Linked DNA regions of Homo sapiens: region 1 is linked to region 2. The links are contacts of gene promoters, found by promoter capture Hi-C in human tissues and cell types (Jung and others, 2019). All regions are on one chromosome and are shown on one strand. Each heading gives the region's core, a stretch centred on a gene start or on the middle of the fragment in contact. The rest is flanking DNA. Distances are from core to core; before and after follow the strand shown. Region 1 has its middle 9.0 kb from the start of PNLIP. Region 2 holds the start of PNLIPRP1 (pancreatic lipase related protein 1).

Region 1 (7,076 bases), core at 2,213-4,712, 54 kb before region 2:
CCCAAAACTGAACTTCGGATCTCCACCCCAAGCCTACTCCACTGACGTGCAGCCTTCCCCATCTTAGTTAATGCAATTCCAGCTTTCCCATTGTTCAAGTCAAAATTTGGGGGTCATCCTTAACTCATCTGCATTTACCCAACTCCCATCCAAATCCTATCAGTCATTTTTTTTGTTTTTGTTTTTGTTTTTTTTTGAGACACAGTCTCGCTCTGTCGCCCAGGCTGGAGTGCAGTGGCGCGATCTCGGCTCACTGCAAGCTCCGCCTCCCGGGTTCACGCCATTCTCCTTCCTCAGCCTCCCAAGTAGCTGGGACTACGGGCGCCCACCATCACGCCCGGCTAATTTTTTTTTTTTTTTTTTTTTGTATTTTTAGTAGAGACGGGGTTTCACTGTGTTAGCCAGGATGGTCTCGATATCCTGACCTCGTGATCCACCCTCCTCGGCCTCCCAATGTGCTGGGATTACAGACGTGAGCCACCGCGCCCGGCACTTTTCTTTTTTTTTCTTTTTTTTTCTTTTTTTGAGGCGGAGTCTCACTCTGTCGCCCGGGCTGGAGTGCAGTGGCAGGGTCTCAGCTCACTGCAGCCTCCGCCTCCCAGGTGCAAGAGATTCTCCTGCCTCAGCCTCCCGAATAGCTGGGATTACAGGCGCCCTATAAATAATCCCCTAATTCACCCTCAACCCTAGACAGACACTGATCTGTTCTTTGTAGTTAACATTAGTTTTGCCTGTTTTAGAACTTCATGGAAGCCTAATAATATAGTTATATGCTCTTTTTGTTGGGTTTCTTTCATTTAGTTTAATATCTCTGAGATTTGTCTATGATGCTACATGTACTCATAGTTCATTTCTTTATATAACTGAGTAGTATTCCACTGTATGAATATTGCATAATTTTTTTCAACTTTTATTTTAGATTCAGGGATACATGTGCAGGTTTATTTCCTGGTTATATTGCATGATGCTGAGGTTTGAGTATGAGTGATGCCGACACCCAGGTACTAAGCATGGTACCCAACAGTCAGTTTTCCAACCCTTGCCCCCCACCATTCCCCTGTCTAATAGTCCCCAGTGTCTATTTTTGCCATCTTTATGTCTACGAGTCACTGAGGTTTAGCTCCCACTTATAAATGAGAACATGTGGTATTCAGTTTTCTGTTTCTGTGTTAATTCACTTAGGATAATGGCCTCCAGCTGATCCATGTTGCTGCAAAGGACATGCTTTCATTCCTTTTTATGGTTGCTATTTTTTACTTCTTATTTGTTTACTTTTAAACTTTTATTTTAGGTTCAGGGGTACATGTGCAGGTTTGTTATTAATATACAGGTAAACTGGGTTGCAAGGGTTTGGTGTGCAGATTATTTCGTCACCCAGGAAGTAAGCATAGTTAACAGATACAGTTTTTCCATCCTCACCCTCCTTCTACCCTCCACCCTCAAATAGGCACCAGTGTCTGTTGTTCCCTTCTGTGTGTCCATATGTACTCAAAATTTAGCTCCCACTTATAAGTAGTATTTGGTTTTCTGTTTCTTTGTGAGTTTGCTTAGGATAATGGCCTCCAGCTGCATCCATGTTGCTGCAAAGGACATGATCTCATTCTTTTTTATGGCTGCATAGTATTACATTGTGTATATGTACCATTTTTTTTAATCCAGTCTACCATTGATGGGCATTTACGTTGATTCCATGTCTTTGCTATTGTGAATAGTGCTGCGATGAACATATATATGCATGTGTCTCTATGGTGGAATGATTTATATTCATTCGGGTATATACCCAAGAATGGGATTGTTGGGTCGAATGGTAATTCTGTTTTAAGTTCTTTGAGAAATTACCAAACTTCTTTCCACAATGGCTGGAATAATTTACATTTCACCAGCAGTGTGTAAGCATTTCCTTTTCTCCACAATCTCGCCAATATCTGTCTGATATTTTTGACTTTTTGATAATAGCCATTACGGCTGTTGTGAGATGGTATCTCATTGTGGTTTTGATTTGCATTTCTCTAATGATTAGTGATGTTGAGCATTTTTTCCTATGCTTGTTGGCCACATGAATGTCTTCTTTTGAAAAGTGTCAGTTCATAATCTTTGCCCACTTTTTATAGTGTTGTTTGGTTTTTGCTTGTAAATTTGTTTAAGTTCCTTATAGATTCTGGATATTAGACCTTTGTGGGATGCATAGTTTGCAAATATTTTCTTCCATTCTGTAGGGTGACTGTTTATTCTGTTGATAGTTTCTTTTGCTGTGCAGAAGCTCTTAGCTTAATTAGGTCCCATTTATAAATTTTTGTTTCCATTGCAATTACTTTTGGCATCTTGATCATGAAGTCTTTGCCATGTCCTATGTCCATAATGACATTTTCTCAGCTGTCTTCCAGGGTTTTTGTAGTTTTACATTTAAGTCTTTAATCCATCTCGAGTTAATTTTGGTATACGGTATAAGGAAGGGATCAAGTTTCAATCTTTTGCATATGGCTAGCCAGTTATCCCAGTATCATTTATTGAATAGGGAATCCTTTCCCCACTGCTTGTTTTTGTCAATTTTGTCTAAGATCAGATGGTTGTAGGCGTGTAGCATTATTTCTGGGTTCTCTATTCCATTCCATTGATCTATGTGTCTGTTTTCATACCAGTACCGTGCTGTTTTGGTTACTGTAGCCTTGTAGTATATTTTGAAGTCAAGTAATGTTATGCCTCCAGCTTTGTTCTTTTTGCTTAGGACTTACTTGGTTATTCAGATTCTTTTTTGATTCCATATGAATTTTCTAATTACATGAATAATGTTGATAGGAGTAGCATTGAATCTGTAAATTGCTTTGAGTAATATGGCCATTTTAACAATATTGATTCTTCCTAATTCTCGTTGGAGAGGTCTTTCACGTCTTTGGTTAGCTATATTCCTAGGTATTTTATTCTTTTTGCAGCTATTGTGAATGGGAATGCACTCTTGATTTGGCTCTCAGCTTGAATGTGATTGGTGTTAGGAATGCTACTGATTTTTGTACATTGATTTTGTATCCTGAAACTTTGCTGAAGTTGTTTATCAGATCAAGGAGCCTTTGGGCAGACACCATGGGGTTTGCCAGGTATTGAATAATATCCTCTGCAAACAAGCATAGTTTGACTTCCTCTCATTATTTGAATACCTTTTATTTCTTTCTCTTGCCTAATTGCTCTGGTTAGGACTTCCAGAACTATGTTGAATAGGAGTGGTGAGAATGAGCATCCTTGTCTTGTTCCACTTTTCAAGGGAAATGTTCCAGCTTTTGTCCATTCAGTATGATGTTGACCATGGGTTTGTCAAAGATAGCTCTTATTATTTTGAGATATGTTTCTTCAATACTTATTTTATTGAGGGTTTTTAACATGAATGGATGTTTAATTTTATCAAAATATTTTCTGCATCTATCAGGATGATTATGTGGTTTTCACATGGACACAAACAACTATGACACTACTCTTGTGACTTAGGACCATTGTTAAGTAATACAAAGCTTCCCTGAACAAAACCACTGGATACCCCAACAGTTGATCTGATGACCCAGACAACTGATTACCAAGTGACTAACACATAGGTAGCATGTCCAGCCTGGAAATGCTGAACAAAGCGATGATTCATGTCCCAGCCAGGAGGGAGTAGGACAGTGCAAAATTTGATAATGCTACGCAGAAGAGCATGCAATCTAAAGCATATGAAGTGTTTATTTTATTTCTAGAATTTTCCAATTAATATTTTCAAACTGTGTTTGGCCACAGGTAACTGAAACTGCAGAAAGAGAAACCATTAATAAAAACAGACTGCTGTATTTAATGTTGTCATAGTTTAGTTAATGAACACTTGGGTTACTTTCATCTTGGGCTATTATGAATAAAGCTGCTATGACTGTTCATGGAAAAGTCTTTTTGTGGATATATGCTTATACCTAGTTGTGGAATTGCTGTTTTTTATGTAAGTGTCGTTTACCTTTATAGGAAACTGTCAAACTTTTCCAAACTGTTTGTCAATTTGATACTCCCACTAGCACTTTATGCACTTTATGAAATTTCCAATTGTTCTACACCTTTGGAATTGTCAGATATTTGCCATCTTACTGGGCTGTAATATTTCCTTGTGATTCTGTTGTGCATTTTTCCAATGACTAAAGGTGTTGAGCGTATTTTTGCATGCTTGTTAGCCACCTATGCATCTTTTTTGTGAAGTTATTGATTAAATATTTTTCTTCTTTCTTTCTTTCTCTCTCTCTCTCTCTTTCTTTCTTTCTCTTTCTTTTTCTTTCTTTTTTTTAGATGGAGTCTAGCTCTGTCACCAGGCTGGAGTGCAGTGGCATGATCTTGACTCACTGCAACCTTCACCTCCCAGGTTCAAGCAATTGTACTGCCACAGCCTCCCAAGTAGCTGGGATTACAGGCACGTGCCGCCATGCCCAGCTAATTTTTGCATTTTTAGTAGAGATGTGGTTTCACCATGTTGGCCAAGATGGTCTCAATCTCCTGACCGTGTGATCTGCCCACCTGGACCTCCCAAAGTGCTGGGATTACAGGAGTGAGCCACTGCACCCGGCCTGATTAAATATTTTTCTATCTTTGTAGGTTGTTTGTTTTACTATCATGTTTGTAAGAATTATTTTTATATTCTGGATACAAGTTCTTTGTTAGGAGTGTATTGTAGACACTTTTTCCAAGTCTGTGTCTTGCCTGAAAAGGCAATGAAAATTTTCTTAACAATATCTTTTGAAGAATAGGGTTTTAGTTCTTGTTTAGACAGCACATATACTAAAATTGGAATGATACAGAGAAGATTAGCATGACCCTGCACAAGGATGAAGAGTAGGTTTTAAATTTTCATAAAGTCCAGTTTATCTGTTTTTTTATAGAGTGATTTTTATGTTTTGTCTAAGAAATCTTTGCTTATTCTAAGGTAGCAAATATTTTTCTCCTCTATTTTCTACTAGAAGATTTTGGTTTTGGCTTTTACATTTAGGTCTGTGACTTTCAGCACACTAAATACAGTAGTCCCTTCTTATCCATGTTTCTCTTTTTGCAGGTTCAGTTACATATGGTCAACCATAGTCCAAAAATGTTAACTGGAAAATTCCAGAAATAAACAATTCATGCATTTTAAATTGCATGCTGTTCTGTGTAGCATGATCAAATTTCACAGTGCCCTACTCCCTCCTGCCTGGGACATGAATCATCCCTTTGTCCAGCATTTCCAGGCTGGACATGCTACCTAGGCATTAGTCACTTGGTAATCAGTTGTCTTGGTTATCAGATCAGCTGTTGTGGTATCCAGTGCTGTTGTTCAGTTAAGCCTCATTTTACTTAATAATGGCCCTCAATCACAAGAATAGTGATACCTATGTCAGTCACCTCACTTTATCACCACACATAGGCATTATATCATCTCATATCATCACAAGAAGGGTGAGTAGAGTATAATAAGTTATTAAGACAGACAGAGAGAGAGGGATGGAAAGAAAGTGAGAGAGACCACATGTACATCAATTTTATGGCCGTACACTGTTCTATTTTATTATTAGTTATTGTTGTTACTCTCTTACTGTGCCTAATTTATAAATTAAACTTTGTTATAGTTATGTATGTATAGAAAAAACATAGTATATATAGGTTCAGTATTATTCACAGTTCTAGGAATCCACTGGGGTCTTAGAATATACTCCCCATGAATAAAGGGGAACTACTGTAAGCCATTCCATTGTCTTTGGCTTGCTGTTTCCATTGAAAAGTCTGCAGTCATTCCTTCTTTGTTTTCCCTGTATCTTTCTCCCCCTGTCTGCTTTTAAGTTTTTTTTTTCTCTATTATTGGGTTTCACAGTTTTACCATTTTTTGTGTTTTTTTTTGGTTTTCATTGGATTTATCCTACTTGATATTGTTCAACTTCTTGGATACATAGATTCATTTTTACAAATCAATATTGGATATTTTCAGCCATGATTTCTCCAATTTTATTTAACACTTGACCCAGGACTGCAATTAGATGCATGTGAAACTGCTTATTATTACCCCAAAGATCATGAAGACTCTGCAGATTTTTCAGCCCTTTTTTCCCCTCTCTGAACTTGGCAGTGTGAATGGTTTTTCTATTGCCATGTCTCAGTTTTCTGATATTCTCTTCTGTATTTCTTAATATGCTAATCTTGCCTAATAGTTACTATTTGTCTTCTCATTATGCCTATGTTTTCCTTTAGCTCTTAATCTTATTTATAATAGCTGTTTTAAAGTACTCATCTGTTAATATTATAATCCCTATCAATTCTAGGTCTCCTTCTATTGACTAGTGAGTCATATTTTTCTGCTTCTTTGTATGCCAAATAATTTGATAATGGATACTGAATACCAATAATTTTACATTTTTGCAGATCAGATTGATGCTTGAAGATTTGTTTTTATGCTTTCTTATGGCAGATTGAGATTAACCTTTATTCTAGGGATATTTTAGTCCTCCTAAAGCATGGCCTTTTGGGGGTGTCTACTAAATGCTCTGATTATACAATAAAATCTCTTACTCTGTTGGACCGAATGTCTTCCATCATGTGTGAGCTCCAGGAGTTGTTTGGATTACAAAGTCCACCAGCAAATTGTTCTTTCTCATATGGTTGTTATCTGACCAGTCTCATGGAATCTTATGCTTTGTAAGCATGTTAGTATTATTCAAGGACTCAAGTGGACTCCTGTGCCAGTTTCTGGAGCTTTTCATATTTGTAGCTTCTCCTCTTCAGTACTCTGCTCTGCTCATTCCAAATACTTTGGCCTCACTGAAATCTGATCTTCATCTCCTCAGCCTGTTGAGTCTACCTTTCTCTTCTCAGATTCTCCCTCTCTCTGCTAGGGTCCTGGAAATGTCTCCAGACATATAGCTGAAGTAATTGGTGATCTCACCTCATTTGTTTTCCTTTTTCACTTATTTTAGTCTTGCATTGCTTATTGTCCAATCTTGGGAAACTTCATATATATTTTCCAGACTTTTAATTATTTATGGTAAAAGAGCAAGTCTGAAGCCAGTTGCCCCATCATGGCTAGAAGTGTAAATCCCTCAGCTTATAATTTT
Region 2 (6,597 bases), core at 3,985-6,484:
ATGTCAACCTCAAAATTAAACCAGACCTCTCATCTCTCTGCAGCCTCTTTGATCTTTTTTAAAGCACAAATTGATCATCCTCCCAATGGTCCCCAGGAAAAATCCATATTCCTTAATGAGCTTTGTGAGGTCCTTTATGTTCTAGTTGTCACCTTGGACTCCAGGCCTCATCTCTCACCATGCTCCTTCTGGAACTCTACATTTTGGCCTTGTTCCCCAAAAGGGCCTTGATCTCTGATGCGGCTGGATGTTGCCATGAATGGTTCCTCTTCCCGGGATGTTCTTTTCCTTATCTTCCTGTCTGTTCAACTCCTACTGATTCTTAAATATCTGAGTAGACAGCACTTCTTCCAGGAAATCTTTCCTCACCTCCATTACCCATACCCCCTAAGACTTGATAAGGGGCTTCCCGGCAATAATCCTACTGCACCCAGAAATGTTCCCACCTCAACCCTTGACTCTCCATATCATAATTGCTGGTTCATTTCTATGTATATCCCATTTCTAAACTCCTTAAGGGGTTTACCTATTGCCTACATGCCTGGCATGTAGTAGAAGAGCACATAAATATTTTTTGAATGACTTTCCCAGTAATGGAAACAATGAATGGATCCACTAGGGTCAAGTATTTAAAATTAGGCCATGTCCAAACAATAACACCCTAAGAAAGAAAAGTATATTTGTGTTAGGTCTTAAAAAGTGGATAGAGAGGGCCAGGCGTGGTGGCTCATGCCTGTAATCAAGACACCAGTTTGTTAGAGCTCTGCGAATTCTTACCCAATCCATTGGGATAATCCTAGAGTTATCAGCCTATACTTGTCAGAGTACTTTCCATGAATCTCCATAAAGCTGAAGCTCGGTAAGGTTACAGTTGCTTGCAAAAAGCTTTCAGAAAACAATTCACTGGCCAGGCGCAGTGGCTCACTTTGGGAGGCCAAGGCAGGCGGATCACTTGAGGCCAGGAGTTCAAGACCACCCTGGCCAACGTGATGAAACCCTGTCTCTACTAAAAATACAAAAACTAGCTGGGCATGGTGGCATGCACTTGTAGTCTCAGCTACTCAGGAGGCTGAGGCAGGGGAACCGCTTGAACCCGAAAGGCGGAGGCTGCAGTGAACTGAGGTCGTGCCACTGCCCTCCAGCCTGGGCGACAGAGCAAGTCTCAAAAAAAAAAAAAAAAGAAAGAAAAAAGAAAAAGAAAAGAAAAAAAGGAAACAATTAACTATTTAATGATCTGTGCGTGAATAACAGGACTTAAAATGACCATCGTTAAAAGATGAGAATTCATTATAATAGTGACACAATTCACAAGGAAATGTGGTTGTTTTGTAGCATATAACAGTTTAACATAATAACCAAAATTACAGCTGCTAACACATTAGATTTCTAAGAATTTATTAGTTTGTGGAACATGAAACAACATATTTATACAAGTATAACTAAAAGAAGGTTAAATATAATTTCTTATTTACAATGTTTCCCATATAATTTAATGTATTTAATAAGCCTAATTGGTTTAATATGTCTCTTCCTTTGAGAAGCTCCAGGGACCCTCTAGTATGTCCCAAAGTCATTCTGAGATCAAAAGACTTAAATTAGAATTTCAGAAGTTTGTAAGAAATGTCAAAAGACCTAAAACATTTTCTTAAATAGGATCTTGGTCATTATGAAACAACTAAAGGTAAGTACAGAAAAGTTACACAGTTTTTAAAAGCTTAGCTCTTTTAATATTAAGAAGACAGTTTGTTATGGCTTCTGGGCAGTATTCAGAGAAGAGAATTGTAGGAGACAAGACTAGGATGGTCCTTGAGTAAGCATTCATGTCTTCCACAAACATGTGCTGAGCACCTACCATATGTGAGGCACTCCGCTAGGCATTGGAGACACAGAAGTGAGCAAAAAAAAGACCCAGTTCCTGGTCTCCGAAGTCCATGGCAGCTGGATGATGAGGACTTCCTCATGGACAAGCAGAGGCCCCCAAAAGTGGCTTCAGCCAAGTTTTGGGTGTAAATCAACCGTTTTGATACTTGTATGGAGAGCAAGTTCTGATTATTTCCCTATCTAATCGTCATTCAAGTTTGCAGAACTTCACAGCACCCAGATTCTGAAGGCTGGGAGTTGTTCTGGAAATGCCAAGGACCCCTACAGAGGAGCGCAGACTTTTGGACCTAATGCACTCCAACTGGCACCAGGGTTTGTCTGGCCTCGGTGAGATCTACCAGCGGTCATCAAGGACTTTGAGAACTCTAGGTGAAACTCAGAAGCTGAGTTCACTTCCCACAGACAGGTATCTCTAATAAAAGAAAAAGAAATCAATAGCTGACTAATGATGAGGCAAGTTCTTGTACCCTACTTCCATTACAACACACAGAGGGAGAGTCTGCCAGTTCATGGGATATTTAGAAACATAGTTCAATGTAATACAGTCTGATTCTAGGCTCTGGAAGAGATTTAAAAACCAGCTTTCTCAAAACAAACATTTCTCTAAAATTAAGGGACTCCGAAAACCCACCTTGAACCCAACTCTATCATTCCCCCAGAATTAAAATTGAAGGAGCAAACAAGGACAGAGCTGATTGCCTGAAGGAAAGCAGATATTTGGGCTTCATCTACACATGTATGTATAACAGATAATGGCTGGTGACTTCATTCTTTACTTTTGTGACCTTCAATGAGTCATACGTCTTGAAGACCTGAGAGCTGTCTGGTGGAAATGAAGTCATGGTTTCAAAAAGAGATCCACAGATTTGTATGCCTATGAATCCTTACTTGTGACCCTGAAACTGGATGTAAGTTCAATCAAAATATTCCAGTTGTTGGCCAGACGCAGTGGCTCACGCCTGTAATCCCAGCACTTTAGGAGGCCGAGGCGGGCGGATCACTAGGTCAGGAGATCGAGACCATCCTGGCTAACACGGTGAAACCCCGTCTCTACTAAAAATACAAAAAAATAGCTGGGCGTGGTGGCGGGCACCTGTAGTCCCAGCTACCTGGGAGGCTGAGACAGGAGAATGGCATAAACCCAGGAGGTGGAGCTTGCAGTGAGCCGAGATCGCGCCACTGCACTCCAGCCTGGGTGACAGAGCAAGACTCCATCTCAAAAAAAAAAAAAAAAAAAAAAAGAAAAGAAAAGAAAAAAAGAAATTCCAGTTGTTATTGTTGTTTGAAAGACTCACCCAGAAATCTTTCCATCTGGTGTGGAATGAATAAATTGTCTGACAGCCTGTGAAGGAGAAGCAGCTTGAACCTCAGCCTTGCTAGAGGCTTAGTCTAATTAAATCCCCTAGAGCATTTAAACAGGAGCCAGTGCATTGGAGCACAGTGTATATTGACTGATGCACGGAGTTTCCTCATTGTCTTAGGAAAGGGTATGCTCGAACCTGGTGCTGTGTGCTAAAGAATAGTAACAGTGAGTGCAACAGGTGCTGCTGTCTCTGAATTCCAGGCCTGGCTTGGGTTCCTGTATTGGTTAGCTACTGCTGCATAACAAACAATCACCAATTCAGTGGCTTAAAGCACTGAATTAAAGCATTTATCCATGCTCAAAAATCTGAGTTTGCTGGGTGGTTCTTCTGGTCTTGGCTGGATTTACTCATGCCTCTGTGGTTACAGTGGGTTGAGTAGGCAGTGCCACTAATCTTGGCTGGGTCCTTTACATACTTGGGGGACAGCTGGCTTTGAGTTGTTCAAAGATGTTGCTGTTACCACACTTAATGACCAAATCAAGTCATACCATGTCTAGCTCAGATTCAAGAGGTGGAGAAATAAACTCCACTTCTTGATGGAAGGAGCTGCAAGATCACATTGCAAAGGGTGTGTGTACAGGAGGAAGGGATGAAGAACTCTGACCACCTTCCCAGTCCATCACCAAGTCTAGCCTGTTTCTCCATCCTGGGGATGCCTGGAAGTAGGGAGGAAACAGGTCAAGGGCCAAGAGGGTTTTCACATTTTCTCTTTTGACTCATTCTGTGTATCCCTCTTGTTCTACATGGTTGACATCCAGTGAAGCTTGCTGATTACTAGCTCAACACAACTGAATATTCAACAACTCTGTACAGCCTGAATTCAAATCTTACCTCATCACTCGTTAGTCGTGTGACTTTTTAGGCAATTTACTTATCTCTCTGTGCCTCAGTTCCCACATTTATAAAGAGAGGCTTATGGGATTGTTTTAAAACTTATTAGGTAATACACGTAAGGTGCTTGGAATTCTGACTGTACTTGGTAAGGCTTCGTAACAGTTGGCAGCTATTCTTTATGATTCCAGGAGTCCTTTCCATTTTCTTAAGAGGAAGGCCCTTAGGCCTGCACCCTTGTGTTTTGGTTATTTAAGATTGAGAACTTTGACACCGAGGCATATTTAACTTGGCAAGGGGAGGCACTCATGGTGTTTGCTTTGTGAAGGCTTATCTGCCTTGCTGTGTGAACTGGCTGGGCTGTTCACAGATGCAGAGGTCTCTGGTTATATCATGATGGCTTTACAGGGTCCAAGAATTATCTGCAGGTGTGCAACCTTCAGAGGACCTGGGGAAACTCAACAGACATGACATGGGCCTCTGGGGGCTCCTGAACCCAACTATTGAGATTACAGTGGCATAATGCAATCATTGCTATTGTTTTAAAGTGTTGTCTTTTGGATTGGTTCATTGCATAGCAATATATAACTGGAATAGGCAGTTAATGGGAGGATTGTGGTCAGAAGCTACTGTGAGGGCTGTTGAATTTTTCTCCAAAGCTCAGATGCCCAGTATTCCTAGTCTTCGAAAGAGAGAGAGGAAGATTGAGAGAGAGAGAGAGAGAGAGAGAGAGAGAAGAAGTTTTCTTAATCAGAGATTTCTCTTTACTTTCAACTAATTGCAGGTATTTTCATCTATTCTAAATGAGAAATACTATCCTCTATCATTAGGGTTTGCTGCTGTGTCCCTATTGAGACTTGTAAACTATTTGGTGATGAAATAGAAAACTGAAAAGTGAGGGCCCATTCAGCTCACAAGTACATGCATAGTTACATAGGTACAAGGTTGGTGACTTCACTCCCTGCTTTAACCAAGCATTCTGTCATATTTCCAGACTTGTGGGAAGACTTGACAGCTATTATTAATCTTGTTTTGTGTATTTGGGCAGATTAAAGTATTAAGTGCGCACAGCATGGGCTATAATCACCTGCTGTTTTCTTGAAGTAGTGTCCAAATGATAAGGCTGGAATATATATTTTTAGAAAGGGCTGGACACTCGATCCGGTGGGAGGGAACATCTGGAACATTAGACAGGGTAAGCCACCTTTGCAACTCCTTTCCCCCTGCTGTGACGTACAGGTGAGGTAAACAGTACTGAAGTCCAGGGCGTCGGTGCTCACTGCTCTGGCAATGCCCGGTGAGACTGAATTATGTTTAAATTTATTGTAGATGCTGATCTTCTGGACAATCACACTTTTCCTGCTGGGAGCAGCCAAAGGTAAGAAACACCACTCCTGCCCCGTAGGAAGGGCTTAAACTTAAGCTCTCAGCCCTGGCCAGAGAAAGCTTTAACTGTGGCAGGGCTCCCAGCAGCTCCAGGGTACCAGAGAGAAGATGTGGGCTGACACTCTGCCTGGGAGAGTAGGCTGGGCAGTTTAAGGGAGACCTGTTTCTGGGGATCCCCCCAGTGGCCTACCTTCATGCTCGGGGTGCCCAAGGCCAGACATTTCTAGGTAAAGCATGAAACATCTGCCTGAGTTAACATATTGACTTATCAATGCCCATGATCACATTGGTCAAATAAATGTATCAGAAGAGCTAGGAATGGGACTTAGAACTTTCCAGTTTTGAGGGTAGTTCTAAACAAAGGCTCCAGTGGTGTCCCTGTGGGATTCAATGGGACTGATACTACTACCGGCCAGTAGTAGGTGGGCACTGGGGTCAAGAAGAGAGTGGGAGGGGTTGCAGTAGGTTCATCCATTGTCTTCAGACTGTCCCTGAATAGAAGAGTGACCAGGCCCGAACAGCAGTGACACCCCAGAGCACACCTTGAGAGCAAATCCTTGAGCAGATTCAACCTTTCTCTGTAGGAAAAGAAGTTTGCTATGAGGACCTCGGGTGCTTTTCTGACACTGAGCCCTGGGGCGGGACAGCAATCAGGCCCCTGAAAATTCTCCCCTGGAGCCCTGAGAAGATCGGCACCCGCTTCCTGCTGTACACCAATGAAAACCCAAACAACTTTCAAGTGAGACCTCTGTCATTTAAATGTCACTGTAACTGGCACGGGGCTATGCCCACCCTGCAGACCATGAATACCTTATCTCTGTGCCCTCTTCCTCCACCATGCCCCACCCCATCCCTCAAGCTGCCCCCCAGACCTAGCTAGACCTAGACAGAGCAGGTCTTTAGTAATGTTGGCTTGAATGAATGAATGGTTCACATTTGCCAGAACCTCTAGCTACTGTGTGATTCTGGTCTGGGGCAAACAGCTTACTGTCTAACAAAAACCACAGGGAAGGTAAAACCTCAAACCACAATCCAGGCCTAGTGGAAGCAGTGATTACTCACCTGGAGAGATGGGGCAAGAAAAGGGAGATCAGGGTGGGCTTCATGGAAGAAGTGGCTTTTTGCTAAGCTTTGA

What was found. Contacts are between HindIII fragments. The study calls those that stand out against the background at their distance.
Region 1: a contact is called between a fragment that was not itself captured here and the fragment with the promoter of PNLIPRP1 in region 2, in 2 of the 25 tissues and cell types used here (H1 embryonic stem cells and mesendoderm cells).

What each region holds. Positions count from the first base shown.
Region 1 is chr10:116,533,428-116,540,503 of GRCh38, forward strand. It overlaps the pseudogene RNU6-1090P. Among named protein-coding and RNA genes, the nearest start is that of PNLIP, 9.0 kb to the right of the region's middle. The HindIII fragment of the contact is 9,042 bases long and covers 1-7,076 here.
Region 2 is chr10:116,585,725-116,592,321 of GRCh38, forward strand. PNLIPRP1 (pancreatic lipase related protein 1) reads left to right here and starts at 5,235. Exons shown (of 13, transcript NM_006229.4): 1 at 5,235-5,271; 2 at 5,406-5,454; 3 at 6,047-6,201. The coding sequence starts at 5,406. RefSeq lists a silencer at 2,739-2,943. The HindIII fragment of the contact is 3,195 bases long and covers 2,862-6,056 here.